Regions from separate parts of the Homo sapiens genome. Here all the other regions are linked to region 1. The links are contacts of gene promoters, found by promoter capture Hi-C in human tissues and cell types (Jung and others, 2019). All regions are on one chromosome and are shown on one strand. Each heading gives the region's core, a stretch centred on a gene start or on the middle of the fragment in contact. The rest is flanking DNA. Distances are from core to core; before and after follow the strand shown. Region 1 holds the start of OR8B4 (olfactory receptor family 8 subfamily B member 4). Region 2 has its middle 34 kb from the start of OR8B8. Region 3 has its middle 17 kb from the start of OR8B2.

Region 1 (5,003 bases), core at 709-3,208:
TATGTCATTATCTTTCATGGCTATATGGAATTCTATTTTATTAACATCCTACCATTTATTATCCGGTCTACAGTTGGCTGACAGATGGGGTGATTTCAGTTTGTGGCTGTTAAGGACAACGCTGCAGTGCACAATCTTGGCATGTCTTTAGGTAAATATGCCTACTTACTTTTAGTTAGTATACACAATTTGTTGTCCAAGTCCAGACACTTCTGAGAGTGAAAGGGTATGCTATTAATAATTATACAGAGATAATGAGTGTAAGTCAGGACTGTCCCAGGCGAACTGGGATTATTTTAGGTAGCCTTAGTGAAACTTACAAATGCAGATGCTCCCATGTCTTTGAATTTTTCTTAAAATATTCATCTAGCAGATCATATGGAGAGCAGCTTTGTCATCTGAATAATGGCAGGATTAGACCCTTACATCCATCTCCCATTATACCTTAAGCCTGCATGCCTAGAGAGTAACTCTGTGTAGGGGTGTGTGTGTGTGTGTGTGTGTGTGTGTGTGTGTGTGTGTGTGCTTTCTAGCATATGTGTTGTGATATTTTAATCTCTTCATATATAGTAAAGGCCTGTCTGCGGCCCTTATTAGAGCTGCGAGTAGGTGGTGTTTGTGGTGGAGGTGGTGTGGTTTCTGTTCTGAGCAGCGCATGGTCCAAGAAGCCTTTTATCTGAGGTGCTCTCTGTAGATCTGATCTGACCTTTTCTGAGGGGTCCTACTCTCATAGCTCCCTGTGAAGATTTGGAGATGGTGGCTTAGGTTGGGGCTATTCACTCTTAAATTCAAGCTTAGGCTCTGAGAGTTAATGAGAAAGGAAAAAATGAGTCCCCAAACTCAGCACTGAATAACATGAAATCCCTGGAGTAGAGGGAAAGTTTGAGTGGAACCCCCACTCCCAAGATGCTAGGTAAGCACCGTTATCCAGGCTGTAAACAAAGACAGTGCAATTCCTTCCCTATAGAGACAGATCTTGGAGAAATTCCCAGGGGAAACTGTGTCTAATCAGGTCCCTGAGATCGTCAAGCAGCTTAAATTCCTCTGTGATATGACAGCTGGGGTTCTGGTCAAAATGAGAGTTCCTAGTTTTTTTTCCTGAAGTTGTCAAGACCACCTGGGAAAATCCACAAACAGAAACCATGGTCTATTCCTTGAGCACCTTGGAGCCTGGGGTCTGTAAAAGCTCTGATTCTCAGCACCAAGGGAGTCAAAAGAGGTAATACGCAAGGCTGTGTGCTTTCTGCACAAGCAGCACCATTTTCTCTTTCTGGCTAATGGAAAAAGAGATGGCGTAAGGCCCAGCACTGAGTGGGGCCCGGGAGAAGGAAGGTGAAGGTCCGAATCCTGTCTTTCCTGATGGTCTCTTTGAAACCCACAACCAAGGGCTCTGGGAAGTATGGATCCCGTCTCTGCTCTCAACACTGACCCTGAGGTGAGATGGAATGGAGGGTCTTCGAGGAGGCGGGTGGGATGTAAAGAGCCAGCAGGTAACACTCTTGGCTTTCTCTCCAGATGGAAATCCACTATCTAGTTGGGAGACGGAGGCAGAGAATGGGAGGGCATCCTGGTGACCTTGAGAGCTCTGGTCTCTCAGCTCTTGAGGCAGCGGCCCAGGTTGTACTCTTGGTTCTCAGGGTGTCTTTCTGAGAGTCCCTGGGCAGCCAATTCAGGTGTGTTGTCTCCCTCGTCATCTCTCAAGCAGAGACGGAATTCTTGCTGCCCATGGTAACAGATGCTAGCTTGAATTCATGATCGGCCCAGCAGAGCTGAGATCCTCTCACAGACACGTTGTTAATACCTCAGGGTGGGGAGGTGTGTAGATGAGGGAGGATGGAAGAGAGGGCATCTGCACACTGGCTGGTCCACTAGAGTCTTCTTCCCTTAGCCATGCTTGTGCCTGTCATGACTCTTTGTGTTTTGCCCTCTGCTTCCCCAGACAGCTCGCCAAGAGAGAATGACTCTGAGAAACAGCTCCTCAGTGACTGAGTTTATCCTTGTGGGATTATCAGAACAGCCAGAGCTCCAGCTCCCTCTTTTCCTTCTATTCTTAGGGATCTATGTGTTCACTGTGGTGGGCAACTTGGGCTTGATCACCTTAATTGGGATAAATCCTAGCCTTCACACCCCCATGTACTTTTTCCTCTTCAACTTGTCCTTTATAGATCTCTGTTATTCCTGTGTGTTTACCCCCAAAATGCTGAATGACTTTGTTTCAGAAAGTATCATCTCTTATGTGGGATGTATGACTCAGCTATTTTTCTTCTGTTTCTTTGTCAATTCTGAGTGCTATGTGTTGGTATCAATGGCCTATGATCGCTATGTGGCCATCTGCAACCCCCTGCTCTACATGGTCACCATGTCCCCAAGGGTCTGCTTTCTGCTGATGTTTGGTTCCTATGTGGTAGGGTTTGCTGGGGCCATGGCCCACACTGGAAGCATGCTGCGACTGACCTTCTGTGATTCCAACGTCATTGACCATTATCTGTGTGACGTTCTCCCCCTCTTGCAGCTCTCCTGCACCAGCACCCATGTCAGTGAGCTGGTATTTTTCATTGTTGTTGGAGTAATCACCATGCTATCCAGCATAAGCATCGTCATCTCTTACGCTTTGATACTCTCCAACATCCTCTGTATTCCTTCTGCAGAGGGCAGATCCAAAGCCTTTAGCACATGGGGCTCCCACATAATTGCTGTTGCTCTGTTTTTTGGGTCAGGGACATTCACCTACTTAACAACATCTTTTCCTGGCTCTATGAACCATGGCAGATTTGCCTCAGTCTTTTACACCAATGTGGTTCCCATGCTTAACCCTTCGATCTACAGTTTGAGGAATAAGGATGATAAACTTGCCCTGGGCAAAACCCTGAAGAGAGTGCTCTTCTAATGGGTCTCTTCATATCACTGGCAACCGATTCTCGGTAAGCATGATACTCAAGTGTCTTTCTATTTATAGGCGGAGGAATTTTAATATTTTTCCTCAAAGAGGGTCTCCTCTCCACTTTTAAAAATTGGAAATCTCTTTCCTATACTCTCCTTGAGGACTATATTATTTTGCAACAATTAAATTGGCTCACTGCCTGCAAGTTAGTGTCTATGAAATGCCTTTTGTTTACTGAACTCTGTATTAGGCCCAAGAGATGAGTAAGATGAGGCTCCATGCCTTCCATTCTTTTCTTGGTAGGCTAAATGGGTTTTTCTGAGCAAGAACGTTTCTGGCTGGAACAAGGGGCAGGTGGTGGTATAAAGGTTGAGGAGTGTTTTCTCTTTAGTTACATAAGCAGACTTATTAAAGATCAATGGTAGATACCTTGGTGCCAGTGCTAATATGATTATATATCCAGCTCTTCAGGAGGTTGCTTGGTCAGGAAGATCATAAACCCTCCTTTTCATATACATGTATGTACATAAAAGAAGCCCTCACACAAGAATTTTCTATGATCTGCTCTGTAAGGATAAATCAAATCCAAATCTTTTATTTCAAAGTTCTAAAGCTTCTGGGCCTTGGAATGGTAATCAGGGGTAAGTGATCCTGTGTAATTGGGCCAATTTCTTAGGCTCCGGAGACTCAGGCTGGAAGAAGAAACAAGGAAGAACTCCACGGATTTGCATGATCTGTAAAATGTGGCCTCTGCCTTGCTCTGGAGATACTAAGCACACTACTGGATTTTAGGAAGATTGCTTATTCTTTAAAGTGGATTTAGATTTTACAGTTCTGACAACGTGTGTGCATGTTTATATGTGTGTGTGTGTGTGTGTGTGTGTGTCTGTATGTGTATTACAGTTAATCAATATAGAATCGGAAAGAAAGAGGAGTCATATTACACGTCCCACTCTCAGGGAGTCTGGAAGGGATCTGGATTTTGAGTGCCAAAGACCACTCTGTATTACTCTGCTAAAGGTTCTGCTGTTCTACATTGAAGAGTTCAGTGCTCCAGCTCGTGGCCAGGAGACATTCTGAGGGAGAGCTGAGAGCAGGGCAGAGAAGCAACTGCAGCACAGGTCTGACCAACAGGAGACGTGAGACAAACTCTATCTATCTTCTCCAAATCTGCTAGAGGAAGATCTTTGGAGGAGAAAAACTCTGATACTTGGATTATGCTTTGATTATGATAATAATGACACTTAACAGTTACTGAACTTGCACCATGTGTTTGTGCACCATTTGAGGTACCTTAAATATATTAATTCATTCATTGGAATTGATTTAATACCTTACTCAACCACTGCTGGTCAGTCCTCTGGGCCTTGCTGAATCCCACCCTCCAGTGGACTGTCTGTGTCTAGGTCCATGGGGGTCTTGGGATATTAGAAAAGAATCAAGAATAAGGAAGGACAAAAGTAAATCTACTTTGATACGGATAAAGAAAAAAAAACAATTACCATTGGTATAAATGAGCGGGAACAAGAACTAAGTCAGGGCATAGGATATGAATGGAAAGGAACAATTATGTAATCAATGCATCAAAGTCCAAGAATAACTTTCCCTGCATTCACTCCATATTGGCACTGGGGTGAGTAGCCGTGAAAGTATGTTTGACTTAATGAGACACTGGCTTGGCTCTTTTGGAAAGAAGTTCCTTTTTGACTGAGGATCTTACATGACAAAAACTCAGAGAGACTTTTCTTGGCTCTTGTAAAGCCAAATAAGAGCATCTACTGCTTCCACAGAAAATGCAACATTAAATAAATTCAGAAGGCCTGCACTTCTGTCTCAAACCAAGGATGGGTCATCTTGCATATTGTTTTGGGTTGACGTTAAGGAATTGTTTGTTCTCACAGTGTTAAACAAATAGAAGGAGGGTTGAGGGCTGTGGCATTACAGTAACAGAGAAGTAAGTTGAAACTGAGTGTCAGATCTGTCCTAAATGAGTCCTTCTGTCACAAGACCACGACTCCATCATCTCCTCACGTCATGACGTTTTAATTTCTAGCAAGGCTACTTTTTTCTCTTTAGGAAGCATCCTTAAGGTTGAGATTCCTCTAGGTTCAGTTCTTGGTCT
Region 2 (4,500 bases), core at 1,289-3,788, 54 kb before region 1:
GATAGGGCTCAACTCTCGCCTGCATATCCCCATGTACTTTTTCCCCTTCAACTTGTCCTTCATAGATTTTAGTTATTCCACTACCCTCGCCCCTAAAATGCTGATGAGCTTTGTCTCAGAGAACATCATTTCCTATGCAGGGTGTATGACTCAGCTTTTTTTCTTCTGTTTCTTTGTCTTTTCTGAATCCTATATTCTATCAGCGATGGCGTATGACCGCTACGTGGGCATCTGTAACCCACTGTTGTACACGGTCACCATGTCTCCCCAGATGTGTTTGCTCCTTTTACTGGGTGTCTATGGGATGGGGATTTTGGGGCTGTGGCTCATATGGGAAACATAATGTTTATGTCCTTTTGTGGAGACAACCTTGTCAATCACTATATGTGTGACATCCTTCCTCTCCTTGAGCTCTCCTGCAACAGCTCTTACATAAATTTGCTGGTGGTTTTTATTATTGTGACCGTTGGCATTGGGGTGCCGATTGTCACCATTTTTCTCTCTTATGGTTTTATTCTTTCCAGCATTCTCCACATTAGTTCCACAGAGGGCAGGTCTAAAGCCTTCAGTACCTGCAGTTCCCACATAATTGTGGTATCGCTTTTCTTTGGGTCAGGTGCTTTCATGTACCTCAAACCACCTTCTATTCTACCCCTGGACCAGGGGAAAGTGTCCTCCATTTTTTGTACTGCTGTGGTGCCCATGTTTAACCCATTAATCTACAGCCTGAGGAATAAAGATGTCAAAGTTGCCCTGAGGAGAACCTTTTGCAGAAAATTAGTCTCTTAAAAATGAATGAGAAAGGGAATCCAAACCTTTGTTAATCAGGGGGTTTCTTTTCTTTTTTTCAGTGAGGGAACAAATGCCACTGCTTTCTCTCCTATACTTAGAGAAAAATTTTAAATGTATTCTTAAGTGCACTTACACCCTGCACTGCTTATCCACACCAACTATTCCAATTGTTATTTTATGAGAATAGTTTCTACTGTTATACAGGGTTTAATCTTGAATAGGCTTATGAAATCATTTACTCCAGTCTCCTCATGCAATACATCACACTCAAAAATATTTTGTAGGCTGCCAAAGGACACACATGTACCTGATGCCAGAGCTGAAACTAGAGTCCAGGCTCTTGAATTTTAATACAATCTGCTGTGTTTTTCTTCAGCTACACTTCCTTGTTCCATCGTTTCCCTGACTGATTTCATTTAAAATTTTTTTTTTTGCATTTAAAGATATCTAATTATATTCATAGTGATGTCATGCAACTTTTCAAAGGTTAATTTTTGGAATAACATTTTTGCAAGAGTGTTGGAAGTGAAAAATGTGGTTGATGTGGTCTTGACAAAAAGATAAGAGAAAATTTTAAAGAATTTTGGGGTGTGTGAGTGAGAAGTAGATTAGGTTCCTTATAGAATCAAGGATGGTGCCCATGGAGATGGTATAGAGCCTTGAGTGAAGGCTTACAATAGAAGGCCTTCTAAGGGAGAGATAAACAGAGTTGAGGGAGTTAAATTTGTTAGATACAAGCTTTATTCTTCATCTGAAGATTAACGGAGACAGAATTTGGAGCCTCACCTCAAAGGTCTGAATAATGTAAATTAGTAATAGACAGCTCTGGATAAGTGAGCCATTAGAACCACGGCAGCCAACTAGTTGTTAGGGGAGGCAATTGCCATTATATAGTTAAGACATTGCATATATCTGTGACCTTCTATTAATAACAATAGGGCATAAAGGGAAGGGACGGTGGTCTTAGGAGAGGTCATATATTCACAGCATTGGGTAAGTGGAAGTACAACTTTGTATAACGAATGAGAGTAATTTTTTTGATCTGAATACATTAGTAATGGTAACAATTATTTCAGAAGTCATGGCATATGAACTGTCTGGAAGATAGTTTAATTTACAAACTTTGAAAAGTTATCTTCTATTAGAAAAAGGGGAAGTTCGGATTAATGTTTAGCTTTCTTCCTTTGGAATCTTTTGGTTTAACGAGGATAGAATTCAGGAAATGAAAGTGTAGGGGAGGGTTGTGTTTTGATGCTAAGGGAGATGAATGATGATGAAATTCAAGACACATGGATTGAGGGTGCACTGGGAATGGTGGAGAATCAGTACAATGAAAACACCCTACTCCTTCTTAAATTGAAATATAAATTTTACAGTGAAGTGCACAAACATTAACTGCTCGATGATTTTTTTTCACATTTATAAGGCTATGATTACTTACCTCCACCCAAATGAAAATATAGCAGATTTTTTATCATTTCAGGGTACTCCTGCCTGCCCTTTCCCAGTAATTACTACTCCCCATGCTCTTCCTGGAAATATTCACTATTCTTACTTTATCATCACAGTTTCATTTTTCTCGTGCTTGAACTTCATATAAATGTTAAATAGTGCATTTACTTTCTTACGTTTCACTTAACATAGAGAGTCATGTGAGATTCATCCATAACAGTTTTCTTGGTTATTGCTGTTTATTTTAGTATTCCATTGTAAGAATGTAGAGCAATTTGCTTATCAATATCTTCTTTATGGACATTTGCCTTGTTTTCAATTTCTACATGTTATTAATAAAGCTGTTATAAACATTCCTTTTTTTTTTTTTTTGAGACATAGTCTCGCACTGTTGCCCAGGCTGGAGTGCAATGGCACGATCTCGGCTCACTGCAACCTCCACTTCCCGGGTTCAAATCATTCTCCTGCCTCAGCCTCCAAAGTAGGTGGGATTACAGGCACCCACCACCACACACAGCCAATTTGTGTATTTTTAGTAGAGACAGGGTTTCACCATGTTGCCCAGGCTGGCCTCCAACTTCTGACCTCGTGATCTGTCTGCTTCGGCCTCCCAAAGTGCTGGGATTACAGGCATAAGCCACCATGCCTGGCCTATAAACATTCTTGAACATGTATTTTGCTGGAAATATACACTTATTTTTGTTTGGGTATATACCTAGATGTAGATTTTATGGGTCACAAGGTAGGCATATGTTTAGGCTTCTAAATGCTATCAAATTGTCTTCCAAAATATTTAAACTGATTTGCACTCCCATCAATAAATTCCAGAAAAGGATACTCTTCATCCTTATTTTCAGTATTTTTCATTTTAATTACTCCGTTGGGTGTGTAGTACAGTATTGCTTTAGTCTTTTAGATATTTCCCTGATAAATAATGATTTTTTTTTTTTTGACGGAGTCTTGCTCTGTCGCCTAGGCTGGAGTGCAGTGGCATGATCTCGGCTCACAGCAACCTTCACCTTCCAGGTTCAAGCAATTCTCCTGCCTTAGCCTCCCGAGTAGCTGGGGTAACAGGAGCCTGCCACCACACCTGGCTAATTTTTGTAGTTTTACTAGAGACGGGGTTTCACTATGTTGGCCAGGCTGGCCTCGAACTCCTGACCTTTTCTTAACAGACAAAGTCTTGCTCTGTTGTCAGGCTGGAGTGCGATGGTGTGATCATGGCTCACTGGAGCTTTGAACTCCTGGGCTCAAGCTATCTTCCTGTCTCAGCCTGCTGAGCAACTGGAACTATAGGTACATGCCACCACACCTGGCCACTTTTTCTATTTTTTGTAGAGATGAGGTCTCACTATGTTACCCAGGCTGTTACCAAATACCTGGGCTCAAGTGATCCTCTCATCTTGGCCTCCCAAAGTGTTGGGATTACAGGTGTGAGCCACCACACCCAGCCTTGTTGGGCACTTTTTATATGTTCATTAGCTATTTGGACATCACCATTTGTGAAGTGCCTGTTCAAGTCATTTGGCTACTTAAAAATAGTGTTGTTGCTGGGCACGGTGGCTCACACCTGTAATCCCAGCACTTTGGGAGGCCAAGATAGGCGGATCAAGAGGTCAGGAGATCGAGACCATCCTGGCTAATATGATGAAACCCCGTCTCTACTAAAAATACAAAAAAATTAGCCTGGTGTGGTGGTGGGCACCTGTAGTCCCAGCTACTTGGGAGGCTGAGGCAGGAGAATGGCATGAACCCAGAAGGCGGAGGTTGCAGTGAGCCGAGATCGCGCCACTGCACTCCAGCCTGGGCGACAGAGTGAGACTCCATCTCAAAAAAAAAAAAAAAAAGTGTTGTTATTCTTTTTTCTTATTGATTAGTTTTTTAAAACGTATAATCTGGATATGAGTACTTTTTCAGACACACACATTGCAGTTATCTTTACTCAGTCTCTGGCTTGCCCCATGACTACTCATTAATTATGTCCTTTGATAATGATATTTCAATTTCAATTTGAATAAAGTTCATTTGTCCACTTCTTTTACTGTTCATGCTTTCTTCTGTTTAATTTTTTTCCTACTACATAGTCACAAAGTCATTCTCAGGTTTTCCTTTGAAAGCTTCATGATTTTTCCTTTAAAATTTAGATTTTAGATCAATTTTAAATCAGTTATCATGTATGGTGTGCAGTTGTTTTATTTCTTTCATAAAGATATTAAGTTGCATCAGCATCATTTATTGAAAAGACCTTCTCTCCTC
Region 3 (4,674 bases), core at 2,065-4,564, 58 kb after region 1:
AGTAACTCACTTAACAAATAACAAGTATACTCTATAGTTAAATTGAACAAACACAATTTCCTATTATGAACATCTTTCACAAGCTTCACTGAGGTAGAAGATGTTGGTGTCCTGCCCTATAGAAGACATTGTTCCTTCCCTTCTAACGCCACAAAATTTCTCTCGTGATAGTGGCTGAAAATAAGAGATAATCATTTGACAGTTCTCCCTGCAATGAGGTTGGCTGTGTGTTTTATTTCTGACTGATAAGACATAGAGGGAAGTCATTTTTAGGCTTCTGGAGAAGACTTACCTCCGAATAAAAAGAGAGGGATATGTGAGGAGAGTTATTCTGCATTGTTTTCTTGCTTTCTTCTTTGGATACAGGTGATTGTTGGAGCTATAACAGATGTTTTGTGAACATAAAGTGAAAACCCCGAGGAATAAGGTCAGCAGACTGAGGACAGTGGAATGGATGAGGATGGGTCTTTGATGAGAGGGTTTAGTTGCTGAATCAACACTGGGACACTCTGCCTCTAGATTTATTGTTATGTGAATGAAATGAGCTCCTATTTTCAATAGCAAAGACTTGGAACCAACCCAAATGTCCAACAATGATAGACTGGATTAAGAAAATGTGGCTCATAGGTGGGAATTGAACAATGAGATTACATGGACACAGGAAGGGGAATATCACACTCTGGGGACTGTGGTGGGGTGGGGGGAGGGGGGAGGGATAGCATTGGGAGATATACCTAATGCTAGATGACGAGTTAGTGGGTGCAGCGCACCAGCATGGCACATGTATACATATGTAACTAACTTGCACAATGTGCACATGTACCCTAAAACTTAAAGTATAATAAAAAAAAATAAATAAATAAAATAAAACAATAAAACAAGAGGACCAAGAAAAAAAAAAAGAAATGAGCTCCTATTTTAAAGAGATTCTGTAATTTGAAGCAAATTTTTTTCTAACTGATAATGTGGGTTGAAAGTTACATTTCTTAGAAAGTAAATAAAACATATAATTTTTACAGATGAACATCGTGGAGTACATTCTTAATTGTTTTAGGTAAATATTGAAGAGAAAACACTATAATTTATTATGATGAGAAGGAGAGCTTGTGAAGATTTAAACTTAAATTTTAAATGTAATCTCCCCTGGCTAGTGTTTTTTGTTTTTTTGTACACTCTTACAGACTCTGAAACATAAACATTGTCCAATATCCTTTTTCCCATATTTGTTGAGAAAAATAAGAAATTACACAATATCATATGTGCTCAAAATACTTCAATTAATCAGAATAGTTCTTTCATGGCTTCTCATCAGCTATAATCTGTCTGACTCAATTTCCTTGCTAATTTTAACTGAGACTGAAAATTAGTTTGAAACTTACACTTTTATTATATAGCTTCAATTGTTCAGTGGGTAATGGAGAGCCACTGGAAGTTCTAAAACTAGGGAAGGCAGAGCTGCACTTCCAGAGCTTATTTTAGCAACAGAATAGGTGGCTAAACAAGAGGAACTATGTGGAAAAATGCTAGAATAACAGTTAGAAGCTACTACAATTCAATAGCACAGTTCCGTTAAAACCTACAGAGTGTCTGAACTTGTGAGGTGGCTGAGAGAAAGGCATGGAGGTCATTGTGTTTGTAGCCTCTAAGCATCTGAGAACCATGGAAATTCGATTCTGAAGACTTTCAGCCAGATAACATACTTTTCATAATTTTAAAGAGGGGCTGCTATGTACTCTTCTCCGTACTTAGCATTAGAAGCAAAGTAGTAAACAAGTCTGAAGTGATCTTTGTCTTTACAGAACTTATAGTTTTTAGAGGAAAACAAAAATTCAAGGGGAAAAATCCTGATGGAGAATCTGCCAGAAGTTATGAGAACACAAATAATAATAGTTGACATTTACTGATTATTTGTCATGTGCCAGGGGCTGTTTTTACCATTGCACTTATTTCATTTAATTGCCACCACCCAGTGAATGAGATATTATTATTAGTATCCCTATTTCAGAAACTATAAACCTGAGAAAGTAAAAACCTTCTTTAGAAGTGATGTAAGCCATTCAAAGTTATTTTGGTGATGTCCTAGGAGAGACAATACCTGAAGTGAGTTACTATGGTCCTTCAAAGTTTTTACATAAAAACACGAAGTCTCAAAGTAGACCTTATGGGAAATTTCCGCTCAGCATGAAGGAAGAAAGACAGAAAAAAACCAAAACAATGATTTCCCTTCAGAGATCAAGGTGGTGGGGATGTGGGAGTTTATTTCTGGCTCTGCTTTGCATTATGTAGGAGCCCTAGAGGGAAGGGAAAACTTGAGTAAAAATATTGAATCCCTAAGGAAGTAAAGACAGATCATGATGCAGGGTGTAAATACAGTTCCGTTATTTTCTATTACAGCCAGAATCTGTTCCCTGGGGAGGGGGGCTGAGTAAGCTTCTACCCTTTTTATAACCAAGCACATTATATCATTAAACTAATATTAAATCTACTATGTCTTAGCAAGCGACTAAACGCGTAGTAATCAAGACTTCATTTTTTCTCTACTGCTTGAGGGGAATCAAAGTCATAATCACACATAAAGACATACAAGAAATTAAGTCTGGACTGTATGTTCTTAGAATCAAAGGAACAAATACCTGGACACCCGAAATTACTTTTCCAGAATCACAGGGAAATAAGAAAGTGAAAGAAGCATCAAGGTATTCTGGACTAAGAATGGTGAGTTTCTGAATTCTATTTACATTAGTGTTTTCTTTTATTGAGACGGAAGTCCAGGGATCTAAAATCCACCATTTCCCCTCATTTTGAGCAATCCTGAAACTCAAATGAAATTGGAGAATGTGTTTGAAGGGGGAGCAGAGAATGTTCAGGGACACTAGTAAGCTCAATGGTTGCAGTATTTACTGAGTAAGTTCCCTTTCCATGGACAGAGCCCTCTCTGTCCTAGATTTATAACTTTTTCACTGTGACTTGGGACAGTAATGTAACCTCTCCTAGACTCTGGTCCCCTACTAGTGGATTGGAAACAATGTTTTGGTTTTCACTGCATCCGACTAATTTCATTAGAGGCCAATGTCGGTCGCTTAGGCCTCTGCCTCCAATTTTACTTGTGAGGGGAGGGCTCAAATGAATGAAGAAATGATGAGACGGGAAAAAAACGATTCTGTCCTGGTCCATCCATCTCCCTTATCCCTTATTTCCAGCAGTCATGCTTGTATATGGCAGCACTGGCCTTCACTCTCTAGGGTTAATTGGCGGTGTTCTGTAAAGGCAGATTCTGTGGGTACAGGTTAGGCTAATCTCAGGCAGACCCATTGTGGAAAGAGCTGGGTTGTCCTCTAATGCAACCGTTTGTTTTTTTCCCCTGTTTCCAGAGATTCCCTTAAAGAAGAATGGCACCTGGAAATGGCTCTTTCGTGACTGAATTCATTCTGGCGGGATTAACACATCAGCCAGATCTCCAGTCCCCTCTGTTCTTCCTGTTTCTAGTAATCTATGTGGTCACTCTGTTGGGAAACTTGGGCTTGGTAACTCTAATTGGGCTGAACTCACACCTTCATACCCCCATGTACTTCTTCCTCTTTAACTTGTCCTTCATAGATCTCTGTTATTCTTCTGTGTTTACACCCAAAATGCTAATGAACTTTATTTCAGAGAAGAATATTATCTCCTTCAAGGGGTGCATGACCCAACTTTTCTTTTTCTGTTTTTTTTGGTCATTTCTGAATGTTATGTGCTGACGTCAATGGCGTATGATCGCTGTGGCCATCTGTAACCCACTTCTGTATCACATTGCCATGTCTCCTACAGTGTGCTCCAGCCTTATGTTTGGTTCCTATTTGATGGCCTTTTCTGGTGCCATGGCCCACACTGGATGCATGCTGAGACTGACTTTCTGTGATGCGAACACCATCGATCACTACTTCTGTGACATCCTCCCTCTGCTCCAGCTCTCCTGCACCAGCACCTACATCAATGAGCTGGTGGTTTTCACTGTGGTTGGCATCAACATCATTGTGCCCACTGTTACCATCTTTATCTCTTATGGTTTCATCCTCTCCAGCATCCTCCATATCAGTTCCAAGGAGGGCAGGTCCAAAGCTTTCAGCACTTGCAGTTCCCATATAATTGCTGTTTCTCTGTTCTTTGGATCAGGTGCATTTATGTATCTCAACCCATCTTCTGCTGGGTCCATGGATAAGAGAAAATTATCTTCTGTCTTTTATACAAATGTGGTTCCCATGTTGAACCCCTTAATCTACAGCCTGAGGAACAAAGATGTTAAATTTGCCCTAAGAAAAGCCCTGAGTAGTAGGAAACTTTGATAAGTAATAGTATGTGTCTGTGTGTATAGTCACAAGACAGGGATATTCTGTTTGTTTAATTATAATATTATAGTAGCAGCCTTCTTATCCTATTTCTTTTTACCATGGTAAAAAAAACTGAGTCTTCTTTAAATTGATTATAATTTTTCTGGAATAGATTTCTTCTTTTCTCTATAATTTTCACTATTAAAAAAAATCTTTTCACCATGTTTTCAGTTTAGGAATAACATTAAGGAAGAAATTTATTTCTATGTTTTTTCTTTTCCATTATGGACTTCCTTTCTCTTCTGGCGAAAGACGAATTGTTATGCAAAGAATCAGGTAAAGTAGAACTAGGGTGACACTGTGCCAC

What was found. Contacts are between HindIII fragments. The study calls those that stand out against the background at their distance.
Region 2: a contact is called between a fragment that was not itself captured here and the fragment with the promoter of OR8B4 in region 1, in 1 of the 25 tissues and cell types used here (liver).
Region 3: a contact is called between a fragment that was not itself captured here and the fragment with the promoter of OR8B4 in region 1, in 2 of the 25 tissues and cell types used here (aorta and psoas muscle).

Annotation. Positions count from the first base shown.
Region 1 is chr11:124,421,826-124,426,828 of GRCh38, reverse strand. OR8B4 (olfactory receptor family 8 subfamily B member 4) reads left to right here and starts at 1,958. Exons shown (of 1, transcript NM_001005196.1): 1 at 1,958-2,887. The coding sequence starts at 1,958. The coding sequence ends at 2,887. The HindIII fragment of the contact is 10,487 bases long and covers 1-5,003 here.
Region 2 is chr11:124,477,286-124,481,785 of GRCh38, reverse strand. It overlaps the pseudogene OR8B9P. Among named protein-coding and RNA genes, the nearest start is that of OR8B8, 34 kb to the right of the region's middle. The HindIII fragment of the contact is 5,845 bases long and covers 1-4,500 here.
Region 3 is chr11:124,365,267-124,369,940 of GRCh38, reverse strand. It overlaps the pseudogene OR8B1P. Among named protein-coding and RNA genes, the nearest start is that of OR8B2, 17 kb to the left of the region's middle. The HindIII fragment of the contact is 4,114 bases long and covers 1,258-4,674 here.